Linked DNA regions of Homo sapiens: region 1 is linked to region 2. Evidence: promoter capture Hi-C in 16 types of primary human blood cells and fetal thymus (Javierre and others, 2016). All regions are on one chromosome and are shown on one strand. Each heading gives the region's core, a stretch centred on a gene start or on the middle of the fragment in contact. The rest is flanking DNA. Distances are from core to core; before and after follow the strand shown.

Region 1 (6,568 bases), core at 604-3,103, 770 kb after region 2:
GACAATAACAGCAAATGCTTACCTAGCATAGATACTCTGGCAGGCATTGCTCAAAGCAATTTACATCAATGGCTTTATAAGCCTGTAAGAATCATTCCCATTTTACAGATTTGGAAACTGAGGCATAGAGAGAGAAAACAGTGATAACATAACCACTGCAGTTGCATTTTAGGAATCTGAAACATATTAAAAGATGTAATAAATTCTTGCATTATATGCAATATTTGAAATAGGGCAAACTGTCTCTATTTTAACCATTTTTCCAGAAGAGCCTAATTTCATAGAGGTTCTATTTTCTTGGCAGGGTGCGGTGGCTCATGCCTGTAATCTCAGCACTTTGGGAGGCCAAGGCGGGTGGATCACCTAAGGTCAGGAGTTCGAGGCCAGCCTGGCCAACATGGTGAAACCCCATCTCTACTAAAAATACAAAAAATTAAGCCAGGTGTGGTGGCACATGCCTGTAATCCCAGCTACTTGGAAGGCTGAGGCAGGAGAATTACTTGAACCTGGGAGGCAGAGGTTGCCGTGAGCCAAGATTGTGTCACTGCACTCCAGCCTGAGCAACAGAGCTAGACTCTGTCTCAACAAAAAGATTCTATTTTCTCTAGTGCCGCTTGGCGGTGCTGCTTTGGGTAGTGAAAAATATCCATTCCTTCTATTGGCACTGTCTCGAATTCTGTTGTTTGTTTGTTTTCTGAGACACAGTCTCACTGTCACCCAGGCTGGAGTACAGTGGAGTGATCACAGCTCACTGCAGCCTCAACCTCCTAGGCTCAAGTGATCTTCCTACCTCAGCCTCCCAAGTAGTTTGGACTACAGGCGCACACCACCATGCCCACCAATTTTTAAATTTATTTTGTAGAGACGGGGTCTTCCTGTGTTGCTCAGGCTAATCTCAAACTCTTGTCCTCAAGTGATCCTCTCACCTCGGCCTCCCAAAGCGCTGGGATTATAGGGGTGAGCCAATGCACCTGGTCCCAAATTCTATGTGTTGAATCATGCCAGGTTCCTCAGGAACCCACAGCTAGGGCAGAATCTGATGTCCTGCAAAACTCATCCCATTCAAGCGCCATCAACCGTCAACTAGATAATCTGTGCTTAGGGCAGGGCCAGGTCATGGCAGGGGCTCAAATATGTTATTTTCTTCCCCAGGTTCAACCGTCTCCCCTACCCCGTACTCCCTGTCATTTTCAAAATGATAATTATCATTTATTAAGTCCTCATAGCACAGATAAGAACTAAAGTTCTGGAATCTGATGTCCTGGGTTCAAATCCCAGCTCTGCCACTTACTGGCTGTGTGACCTCAGCAAGTTACTTAACTTCTCTGTGCTTTAGTTTCCTCATTTGTGTAATGGGGTGTTGATAATTCTAAAGGGGTTTCACATGGTGAACGGCACATAGTAAGTGCTCAAGAAACGCGAGCTGGTACTATCACGCTTGTTTGTACTTTTACATGCAGTTTAGTTAGAAGAAGGGGTTCTGCTGCTACAGAGTCTGGAAACTTCCAAGGGAGCCAACAAGGAGGGAAAGGAAGAGTGAGAGACCTCCACAGTAAGAGGAGAGGGGACAGATGTTCAAAACCAGGTCCCCAGCCCAACAGGTCCACCCTCCTCCTCCAGCAAGCCTCACCCATCGATGCACAGAGACACCCACCCCCTGGCGGAGAAATAGCAGAGCTGCACCTCTCTGCAGATCCTGGGGGCGACGGTGGGAAGGAGCCAAGGAAAGAGAACTGCTGGAAGCCCCCATGTTCTGGGGAGTGAGGACAGATGTGTGGGTGGGTGGAGGGGAGATGGCAGAGAGATGGCGGAGAGAGATGCATGAAAAGAGGGGAAGGAGAGGAGGTGGCAGGAAGAAAAAGAGGAGAGGGTTATTAGTCAACAGTACAGAGCAAAGCAAGATGGAAAACCAGAATGTTGGCCATAAACTTCTGAACTCCTGTTCATCTTTGTATCCACACACTGTTGGCCAAAAGGACGAATGTCCTCTGTAAGAATTCAGTGCAAAGAATAAAAAATCTCTCCCTCTAGAGGTTGTGTCTGTTTTAGTAGGTTGCCCTTTTTGCTCTGGCTGCCAGGAAGCTCAAGAATGAACTTGATGCTCCCAGGCCACTTGTTGTTTTTGCCTCTCAGAGGAGAGCTAATCTCATTTCCGTTTTTCCCTGGGCTGTCAGGATGCTGGGCATCCAATTCTGGGCTCAAAGCAGCTCTAGCAGAGATTGGGCAAAAATGGCCCCGATTCCCCACTTTCCCCTGTATTGACACCCTTTGCCTGTGTCTTGCAGCTCCTTGAATCTGGGAAGACCTTGTGACTAGCTTTGTTTAGGAGGATTATGGAGGAAGTGACATTATGGCAGCTCCCCAGCTACTCGGGAGGCTGAGCCAGGAGGTTTTGCAGCTTCCACTTTTTCTTTTGGAACCCTCTGAGAGTCAGGCACACACAGAGTGTGACAAATGAGGGCTCACTGTGGAGAATCATGTGTTTATGAAGACAGCACAAATATTTTAAAAGGGCAGCAGATTTTCAGCCGGGAGATGATTCTCGTAGCATAATCTGGTTCTGTTCCTGAACATCAAACTCTGCTTTCCAATCTCCTTGTGTAAATACTATATGAGACATAAAAATAAAATCTATCTTTCTAGCATGAGCTCACAAGATCAAGACCCTCCATGCTGTTTTGCTCTGTGAGTGTGTTTTGGGAACCACTCACCTTGCTCATTTTGTTTTCTTTTTTTTTCCTTTTTTTTTTTTTTTGAGACAGAGTTTCACTCTTGTTGCCCAGGCTGGAGTGCAATGGCACGATCTCGGCTCACCACAACCTCCACCTCCCGGGTTCAAGCGATTCCCCTGCCTCAGCCCCCCGAGTAGCTGGGATTACAGGCATGTGCCACCACGCCCAGCTAATTTTGTATTTTTAGTAGAGATGAGGTTTCTCCATGTTGGTCAGGCTGGTCTCAAACTCCCGACCTCAGGTGACCCGTCCACCTTGGCCTCCCAAAGTGCTGGGATTACAGGCGTGAGCCACCGCGCCTGGCCGCTCATTTTGTTTTCTTGCCAAATTGCATGGACTGGTATTTCTACAGCTACCTTTTCATGTCAATAAAAGATTAAGGCAAACTGACAAATGCCAGAAACTTGGAACCTGGAAAAAACAGGATGCCAGTTCTGCCAGCTTTCTAAAACCATTTCTCAAACCTCCTCTAAGGATGGGGGGGCAGGGGCAGTGGCAGAAAAGGCTTGGAAAAGGTCAGAGTCCTACCACAGGGCATTTGGCATCTCTGCCTATGACCCCTAGAAGTGTCAATCCAAAAAGACAGTCACACTCATGGGGGCCTTTTGGGGGCAGGAAAGCCCTCCAAAACTGTATCTCAGTCTGTTTTTTCTTTCTTCTTCCCTGGGGGCGTGAAGGGAACTTTGTAAGAAAACAAAGAAAGCAAAGCCTAAAAGTTGACTGACCTGCAAAAGATCATCATTCTGTGTTCTCTTATTGTTATAAATTATTTCTCAGTAGAATTTTTTTTTTTTTTTTGGGACAGAGTCTCACACTGTCACCCAGGCTGGATTGCAGTGACACAATCTTGGCTCACTGAAACCTCTACCTCCCAGATTCAAGCGATTCTCCTGCCTCAGCCTCCCTAGTAGCTGAGACTACAGGCATGCACCAGGACATCTGGCTAATTGTTGTACTTTTAGTAGAGACAGGGTTTCACCATGTTGGCCAGGCTGGTCTTGAACTCCTGACCTCAAGTGATCCGCCCACCTTGGCCTCCCAAAAGTGCTGGGATTACAGGTGTGAGCCACCATGCCCAGCCAAATCTCCTAATTGTTTAGGGAACACAGGCCATCTAAAAATAATAAGTTTACTTCTTCCTGTTCGATATTCATACTTTTTCTGGTCTGATTGCATAGGCTAGTATTGCTAAAAAAACGATGTTTAACAGTAGTGTTAGTGGGTATCTTTGCCACGTTTCTGATTAAGGCGGAGTGCTTTATCCTTGAGAAGGATGCTGGCTTATCAATCAAATCAATAGTCAATCAATTAATCTATGGATCCATCCATCACTGATTTGAAATACTATTTGTGACACTGGCTATTCTGGGTCTGAGCAGAAAACTCAGGTTCAGACCTCCGCCTCTGAAACAAAGGTGCTCACGCTGTGGATTTGGAGAATGGCCGCACAGACCCCTAGAGCCGGGGTGGGGGAAGTGGGTCCTCACCGTCTTTCCAGATCTCTGCCGTCAGCCGGTCTGTGCTCTGGTGGAGCAAGGCTGCGACGTTGTCATTCAGAGGGTCCATGTTTTTCATCAGCCACTCGTTGGCCTTGTAGTCGACCTGAATGAAGTCAGGTAGAGGAGGGCGATGACTTGCAGGCTCAGACATTCTCTGGATTTCCTAAGGAGCCTTCCAGAAGCTCTGAGACTCCCAGGTCTGGAGCTCACCATGGACAAGCGAGCACTGGTGCCACCTTGTGTCCATATTCTGAACTGCACCCCACCAGCATGGTCCCCTCTCTCTCCTTCCCCTCTATGCCCCCTGCCACCTCTGTGACCTCCACCACCACCACTTTCTTCCTATTCATTCCGCTCCAGCCACCCTGGCCTCCGCACTGTTCCTCAAACATGCGAGCTTACTCCCACCTCGGGGTTTTACCCCTGCGGTTCCTGCCACCTGGGGTTCTGTCTCTGTGGGTTTCACACCACTGGCTCCTTCTGGGTACTCAGGGCTTTGCTGTGGGGCTCCATAGAGTCACGATCTTGGCCGCTACAATTCTCTGCATATGTGCCCCCCACCAGACAGCGGTCCCCCGAGGGCAGGGCCCAGGTCTGACTCACGGCCTAGCAGAGGGCTGGGTACAGGGGGAGTTCTGGAGTATGTCTGGGGAAGAAACTGAGGGCTAGACACAGAACACATGGAATCTCCTGCCTCCCAGCCATTGTCTATGCTGTTCCCTCTGCCTGGAGAGCCCTTCCCACCCTTCACCCATCCTCTGGGGCTGCCTGGTCCACATCATCAAAACCAGGGGTCAGCAAACTATGGCTCACAGGCAAAATCCAGCCTGCCACCTCTTTTTGCAAATACTTTCACTGGAATAGGGCTGGGCGCGGTGGCTCACACCTGTAATCCCAGCACTTTGGGAGGCCTATGCGGGTGGATCAACTGAGGTCAGGAGTTCGAGAGCAGCCTGGCCAACATGGTGAAACCCTGTCTCTACTAAAAATACAAAAATTAGCCAGGCATGGTGGCAGGTGCCTGTAATCCCAGCTACTGGGGAGGCTGAGGCAGAAGAATTGCTTGAACCTAGGAGGCGGAGATTGCAGTGAGCCGAGATCGTGCCACTGCACTCCAGCCTGGGTAACAGAGGGAGACTCTGTCTCAAATAAAAAAAAATACATATATATATGTGTGTGTGTGTGTGTGTGTGTGTGTGTGTGTGTGTGTGTGTGTGTGTAGTGTGTATATATATATGTGTGTATATATATATGTGTGTATATATATATGTGTATATATATATAGGAATAGAACCTTCATTTATGTCTTCATAGTCAAACTCATGGGGGCCCTTCTGGGGGCAAGAGAGCCCTCGAAACTGTTTCTCAGTCTGTTTTTCCTTTCTTTTTCCCTGGGGGCTTGAAGATACTTATGTATTATCTGTGGCTCTTTTTGTGTGACCACAGCAGAATTGTGTAGCTGTGACAGAGATCGTCTGGCCCACAAAGCTGAAACTATTTACTATCGGACCCTTTACAGAAAATGTTTGCCGGCCCTTGACTGAGATTTGAGATTGAGCATATTCTCTTCTGTGAAGCTTTCCCAGGTACTTCTCTTCTGGGCTCTGACACTACCCTCAGCTGCCTCCACTGAAAGACCTATTAACCTTATATCCTGATCGTCTGTATTTGCCTCCCTCCCAGATAGGGATCTTTGTGAGGACAGAAACCATGTTTGATCTGTGTATCCAGCTTTGCTCGGCCCCGAGCTGGGCACACAAATGGCACCCCGCACATATCTGCTGAATAAGTGGATAAAATGCACATAGATCGCCTCCTGATGAACTCCTACCCATCCCTCAAAACCCACTGCAAATATCACCTCTTTGAGGAAGTTTTTGGTGATCCCATCAGACAGAATCCTTGCTCCTCCCTGGGCTCTCCTAGCCCCTGCTCTGTTTGTCTGGACCTCAGGAGGACCCTGTTTTCCCTCTGCACCCTCCCCCCATCTGTAGCCAGTGGAGATCCCTTGATCCCCACTCCCACATGCCCCAAGGCCGGCCCCAGCCCCTACCTTGCCCGCGTAGTGGAGAACACTGAAGTCGGCCTGATCCCGCAGGTGCCTCGGCCGCTGGAACTTGGGGTGGCCGCCCTGCTCCTGGGCTACCTTCTCCACAAACGACTTGTCTGTGGCCTTCGGGAACCAGCACTCCTCATCCAGCAGGGCCAGGAGTCCAGGGGGGTTGGCCTGGCCATTGACAGCAGGGGGAGAGTAAGTCAGATCCCCACATATTGGACACTCAGGTGGCTGCTGATTTTTAGCTCTTATAAGTCACACTTGGACATAAAAACAAACGT
Region 2 (6,854 bases), core at 3,485-5,984:
GAGGTTTGGAAGATGCAGAGCTGAGGTTGGAGGTTAAGGTAAAGACAGGGACATGGGGTCAGGAGACAGAAGATATGAGATCAAGCTGGGATCATAAGGTAATAAGACAGAAGGTCAAAGATCACAGTAGCTGGCATTGAAGAGGGTCAGGTCTGGATTCGTTGTCTCTGACGCTGGAGAGACAAGAAAGTTCTTGAGTTATGCCACTCAAAGTCAAATGTCAAAGATCAAAGAGACCGTCAATCATCTGGGGTCATGATTCATATGAAATTAAGTCATAAATATGTAACTTGGAGGTTTCGGGATTGTAGTACAGGTCGGTGAGGGGCAGGGGTATTGACATGGATGGGCCACATCCAGGGAAGAGGGACGTGGCCTCAAAGTGGGGAGATTTAGGGGACCCTGCAGCACGCATGTTCTCTCTCCAGACCCATTCCCGGATCTGCTCCAGTGCCTCAACCTCTCCATCGTCTCCCATGCCACCTGCCATGGTGTGTATCCCGGGAGAATCACGAGCAACATGGTGTGTGCAGGCGGCGTCCCGGGGCAGGATGCCTGCCAGGTGAGCCAGTGCAGGCAGCGTGCGTGGTCACCAGGACAGGAAGTGAAGGGGAGGGGCTGGAAGCAGGAGGGGAACTGATGGAGGATGAATCAGGGAAAGGGGATGCTGCAGAGAGACGGGGTCAAAAAGGAAGGGAGAGGCTGGTTACGGAGGCTCACACCTGTAATCCCAGCACTTTGGGAGGCCGAGGCGGGCGGATCACTTGAGGTCAGGAGTTCAAGACAAGCCTGGCCAACACGGTGAGACTCTGAATCTACTAAAAATACCAGAATTAGCCGGGGGTGGTGGTGCAAGCCTGTGGCCCCAGCTACTTGGAAGGCTGAGGCAGGAGAATCGCTTGATCCCGGGAGGCGGAGGTTGCAGTGAGCTGAGATCACGCCACTGCACTCCAGCCTGGGCGACAGAGCCAGACTCTGTCTCAAAACAAAATAATTAATAATAATAATAATAATAATAATAATAATAATGGAGGAGAGGCCCAGGATAAGGGAGGGAGAGAGACAGGGAGTAAAAGGGAGGACCGGGGAATGGAGGAGGGGGAGGGGCAGGGAGAGAGAGGGAGGAAGGGAACAGAGAAGGAAAGATGGGGCAGGGGTTACAGAGAGAGACAGCAAAACAGACGGAGAGGACTGGGAGCCCAGACAGGGAACCAGCTGTTTCTGGGGCTCTAAGTCTTTCCCATACCATCCTCCAGTTGGTGCTGTCCCAGACTGAGAGAGATTTGAGGATGGCGGTCTCTCCCCTCATTGGTCAGGGCCCCAGCCATTGTCCTTGAGAGAACTCTGTGCTTTTGATGGAGTCCTGCCCACCTTCCCTGGGATTGGTCATTTTTGATGGCACTCTCTCCCCTCATTGGTCAGAACCCCAGGCATTGTCCTTGAGAGAACCTCTATCCTTTATGGAGTCCCACCCTCCTCCCCTGGGATTGGTCATTGATAATAGTGTTCTCTCTCCTCATTGGTCAGGGCCCCAGCCATTGTCCTTGAGAGAATGCTCGACTCTTTATGTTGTCTTGACAGCCTCCCCTGAGATTGGTCATTAATGACTGTGCTCTCTCTCCTCATTGGTCAGGGCCCCAGCCATTGTCCTTGAGAGAACCTCTGTCCTTTATGGAGTTCCACCCTTCTTCCCTGGGATTGGCCCCTAGAGACAGTGGTTCTTCTCTTTTGGTTAGCCATTGCCATTGTCCTCCGGGAAAGTGATTATACTCTTTTGTCTAATGACCAGACTTGGAGCCCTCCCCAAGGCCCAGGACTGGGTTGAAGGGTTGGGGAGGAAAACAGAAATAAGATGTCTCCCTTGTTCAGACAGTACTTCTCTTCCCTTCCAGGGTGATTCTGGGGGCCCCCTGGTGTGTGGGGGAGTCCTTCAAGGTCTGGTGTCCTGGGGGTCTGTGGGGCCCTGTGGACAAGATGGCATCCCTGGAGTCTACACCTATATTTGCAAGTATGTGGACTGGATCCGGATGATCATGAGGAACAACTGACCTGTTTCCTCCACCTCCACCCCCACCCCTTAACTTGGGTACCCCTCTGGCCCTCAGAGCACCAATATCTCCTCCATCACTTCCCCTAGCTCCACTCTTGTTGGCCTGGGAACTTCTTGGAACTTTAACTCCTGCCAGCCCTTCTAAGACCCACGAGCGGGGTGAGAGAAGTGTGCAATAGTCTGGAATAAATATAAATGAAGGAGGGGCCATGTCTGTCCATTTGAAGTCCTCATGCTGGTTGAGACTGGAAGAAGGACTCAGCAGTTTCCCTATCTCATAGGAGTAGAAACAGAGCTCAAATAAGGCCAGGCACAGTGGCTCACACCTGTAATCCCATCACTTTGGGAAGCTGAGGCAGGTGGATCACCTGAGGTCAGGAACTCGGGACCAGCCTGGTCAACATAGTGAAACCCCAACTCTACTAAAAATGCAAAAATTAGCCAGGCATGGTGGCGCATGCCTGTAATCCCAGCTACTCAGGAGGCTGAGACAGGAGAATAGCATGAACCCGTGAGGCAGAGGCTGCAGCGAGCCGAGATTGAACCATTACACTCCAGCCTGGGCGACAGAGCGAGACTCCATCTCAAAAACAAACAAACAAAAAACCCAGTGCTCAAATAGGATGAGGGTCTTCCCTGAGTAGTTACTCAGAAATGGAGTAGAAAAAGTTACTTTTAATAATATAGGCCGGGTGCAGTGGCCCACGCCTGTAATCCCAGCACTTTGGGAGGCCGAGGTGGGAGGATGGCTTGAGCTCAGATTTCGAGATCAGCCTGGCAACACAGTGAAATCTTGTCACTACAAAAACACAAAAAATTAGCTGGGTGTGGTGGTGCGTGCCTGTAGTCCCAGCTACTTGGGAAGCTGAGGTGGGAGGATCACCCGAGCCGGGGAGGTGGAGGCTGCAAAGAGCCGAGATCATGCCACTGCACTCCAGCCTGGGCAATAAAGTGAGACCTTGTCTCAAAAACAAAAACCCAGCAATATAAATAAGACACATGTTTCTTCATCTGGCATAATAGAAATAGTGCCCAGAGCTTATAAGCTTTTCAAGAGTCCACAAAAGACCCGAAAAAGAAAAAGAAAATTGTTAGCTCCAAAATACCAGATGAAAGCTGCAAAGTCAACATTTATGACCATTTAATCCAATGTCCATAAAACGTAGCATTCTTTCCACTAGCCAACTGCAGTTTACTTTCTTGTAATGAAGCATACATTGTATCTTTAATGTGGGACGTGGCTTTGTTCTAATAAGACGAAGGGTGGAGTGCAGGCTTGGAAAGCAGGAGAGCTCAGCCTACGTCTTTAATCCTCCTGCCCACCCCTTGGATTCTGTCTCCACTGGGACTCAAGAGGTGAGGAGAGACCATCTCCCCAAATGCACTGAAGGGAAACTGGAGGAGGGAGGGAGTGAGGGGTGATCATACCAGCGGAGGCACATTTGCTGAGCCCCCCCGCAGTCTGCTCTTTCCAAGTGGACCCTCCTGGAAGCCTGATCCCAACCTCCCCTGCAAGCAGGTCTGTCACCCCCATCTCTCAGATGAAGAAACTGAGCCTTGCAGGGGTGGAGTCCCTTGTCCCCACGTCATAAGGGTAGTCATAGTAGTAGGAAGAGGAAGCACCTAGGTTTGAGGCCAGGGCTGGCTGCTGTCAGAACCTAGGCCCTCCCCTGCCTTGCTCCACACCTGGTCAGGGGAGAGAGGGGAGGAAAGCCAAGGGAAGGGACCTAACTGAAAACAAACAAGCTGGGAGAAGCAGGAATCTGCGCTCGGGTTCCGCAGATGCAGAGGTTGAGGTGGCTGCGGGACTGGAAGTCATCGGGCAGAGGTCTCACAGCAGCCAGTAAGTGAACAGCTGGACTCGGGCTGCCTGGGCGGCAGGGAGAAGCGGGCAGGGGAAGGGTCAGCAGAGGAGCGAGGCCCCAGAGGAGCCCTGGGGTGGAGCACAGCCAAGGGCTCTGTTCCCTTTCCTGGACTCGGCTTCCACAGGCCCTGACCTGCCTCCCCCACCCTCCGGTCCTGCCCCTGTGCCTGGCAGCAGCCCCACCTGTGTGACATCCCAGCACACCCCCCCTCTCCTTGCAAAGGAGAAGGGAGCGGCCTAGGGGAGGCCAGGGGCCCACCTGGGCTGGGGCTGTGGAGAGGGAGTGGCTGGGACGGGAGGAAAAAGAGAGACGGAGATTAGATGGAAGAAGAGGGATTTCAAGACAAATTGCCAGAGATGCAGTCAGAGAGACTGACTGAGAGACACAAAGATAGAAGGAATTAGAGAAAGGGCCACACAGAGCCAGACAGAGAGAGAAGAGTGGAGATGGAGACAGGGACGAGGACAGAGAAAGGCAGACAGACACATAGGGACAGAAAGAGAAAAATCACACAAAGTCAGAATTACTGAATGACAGGGAATGACACATAGAACGAGACACAGATTCAGAGACTCAGGGCAGGGAAAGGAAGGCTGCAGACAGACAGACAGACAGAGGGAGGCTGAGACACAGGGAGAAGAGGGGCTTGGAGAGGTGGCACAGGCAGGCAGCCAGTGCCTCAGAGGCCTCCGGGGAGGGCCCTCACACACACCCCGCCCCGGGGCATTAAGGCAGGGCTTGGAGGCCAGTCATCCTGGGCCCGCCCAGGGCCGCCCCCCTGCCAGCCCGCCTGCCTGGTGCCTGGCACCTGGCGCTCCAACCCAGCCTACCTGCTGTAGCTGCCGCCACTGCCGTCTCCGCCGCCACTGGGCCCCCAGAGCCCCAGCCCCAGAGCCTGTGAGTCCAGGAGGAAAGGGAAGCTGCCCCTCCCCGTCCAGGTGTCAGCCCTCCCCAAGGACACCTGTCCCACTCGGGCACCCATTTCTCCCTCTGCTCTGTCCTTCTCTGCTTGGGTGGGGGTTCCTGGCCTCTCTCTACACCTCTCACCTCCGATGGCTGTCCGCAGCCTCAGTTACCTCTAATCTCCATGGCTTCAGCTGCTGAGCTGGCCCTCTGCTCCCACCCCCGCTGGCCAGGGCAGCGGAGGGCACTGGCCCTCCCCTCGACCAGCCCCGCCCAGCTTTGCTTGGCTGTCCTTCAAAAGGGCAGGGGTTTGGCGGACAGGGCTTCAGCAAGCCGGGTGATGGGGGTCCCAGACATTGTCTGGGGCTGAGCCCCCTACTCCCCTCCAGCAGACCTCAAAGGCTCCATATCGCTCTGCTGCGAAGACAATGAAAAAGGGGTGGCTACGGAACGGTGTCTGGTTCCCCTTGTCCTTCCACCCCAAGCTGCTGGGGCCTGGCCAGCTCTCAAGGCAAGAAGGAAAACATCCTCTGACATGTGCCGGGGAGGTCCCATGGCTGACTTGAACAGGGCCGAACCATGGCTTGACAGCTCAAAGCCCCTCCCAACGACTTCCACATGGTTCTTGGTATCTCGGAAGCTTCTAGCTGTGACCAGGCCCTCTCCAAGGCCACCCTAGACACCTAAGATATATTTTAAGTGTTTGGAGATCTGAGTGCTGTGAGAAACAGGGGATTTCCCCAACCTTGTTTCTCCCAAGTGGGGAGCGGGAGCAGGTGAGGGAGAGAGGAGAGGGCATGAGCCAGCCCCCCCCTCCCGATTTCCCCGTAAAGTGATGCGGCCCCATGTCCCTCCTTGTTCCCAGAGGAACCTGGGGCCCGCTCCTCCCCCCTCCAGGCCATGAGGATTCTGCAGTTAATCCTGCTTGCTCTGGCAACAGGTACGCAGGGGATGGGGGCAGGGCAGGATCCTCCCTCTTGAATCTCTGGGATCCCCTAACCCTCTGTGTCTGGACAGTGACAGGGCTGATTCCAAATTACAGAACAACCCATAAGGCACCTGAACTGGAGCAGTGGTCATGAGGGCCTGGATGCCCTTCTAGATAATCCCTTTAAATGCCAAAGGAGGAGAGGTCAAGGGGGTCGTAAAGGGTCCCGTGGAGGGGCTGAGGAAGCTGGAGTTGGGGGAGCAGTCACTCAAAGCGCCCAGGACAGGGGCTACTGACCAACCAGTATGGAAGTATTTCCTTTTTTTTTTTTCCCAGAGACAAAGTCTTGCTCTATTGTCCAGGCTGGAGTGCCGTGGTGCCAACACGGCTCACTGCAGTCTTGACTTCCCGGGCTTAAGTGATCCTTAAGCCATCTCAGCTTCCCCGGTAGCTGGGACCACAGGCACCTGCCACCAAGCCAGGCTAATTGTTTAATTGTTTGTAGAGATGGGGGAGGAGGTCTCACTATGTTTGCCTAGGCTGATCTAGAACTCCTGGGCTCAAGTAATCCTCCCACCTTAGCCTCTCAAAGTGCTGGGATTACAGGCATGAGCCACTGCATTTGACCTTATGGAAGTATTTTCATCCTTTAATACCCGACCCCAGCATCCAGGGCAACCCAGAGGGACACCAGACCAGGGCCCAGACCACCCACTCTCTTTCTCTCCTCCCCACCCCCATTTCTGGGAGTCCTCCTGGTCTACCACCTCTCCTTCCTGAGCCCCTTCTTTTGCTCTCACCCCCTCCAGGGCTTGTAGGGGGAGAGACCAGGATCATCAAGGGGTTCGAGTGCAAGCCTCACTCCCAGCCCTGGCAGGCAGCCCTGTTCGAGAAGACGCGGCTACTCTGTGGGGCGACGCTCATCGCCCCCAGATGGCTCCTGACAGCAGCCCACTGCCTCAAGCCGTGGGTGCGGGGGCTGGGGCGGTGCCGGGGTGGGGGGCTGGGAATGGGGAGATGGATGGAGAGAAGCTCAGGGATAGGGGTGCTGGTAAGGGGATTAGAGATGGGGATGGGTAGTGTCAGCAAGGTTGATGGGCTCGAGTTG

The links. Contacts are between HindIII fragments. The CHiCAGO score rates a contact against its expected background, and 5 or more counts as called.
Region 1: a fragment that was not itself captured here is called in contact with the fragment with the promoter of KLK11 in region 2 in 1 of 17 cell types (activated CD4 T cells); the score reaches 5.8 in activated CD4 T cells.

Annotation. Positions count from the first base shown.
Region 1 is chr19:50,250,405-50,256,972 of GRCh38, reverse strand. MYH14 (myosin heavy chain 14) reads right to left here. Exons shown (of 43, transcript NM_001145809.2): 15 at 6,285-6,458; 16 at 4,220-4,334; 17 at 1,655-1,753. Among named protein-coding and RNA genes, the nearest start is that of MYH14, 50 kb to the right of the region's middle. The HindIII fragment of the contact is 7,915 bases long and covers 1-5,810 here.
Region 2 is chr19:51,024,496-51,031,349 of GRCh38, reverse strand. It overlaps KLK11 (kallikrein related peptidase 11), which reads left to right and starts at 4,734. Exons shown (of 6, transcript NM_001136032.3): 1 at 4,734-4,812; 2 at 5,684-5,758; 3 at 6,556-6,712. The coding sequence starts at 5,719. KLK12 (kallikrein related peptidase 12) reads left to right here. Exons shown (of 6, transcript NM_001370125.1): 5 at 429-562; 6 at 1,893-2,256. The coding sequence ends at 2,048. RefSeq lists a silencer at 1,159-1,390 and enhancers at 3,423-3,979, 4,539-5,096, 5,097-5,655. The HindIII fragment of the contact is 2,362 bases long and covers 3,099-5,460 here.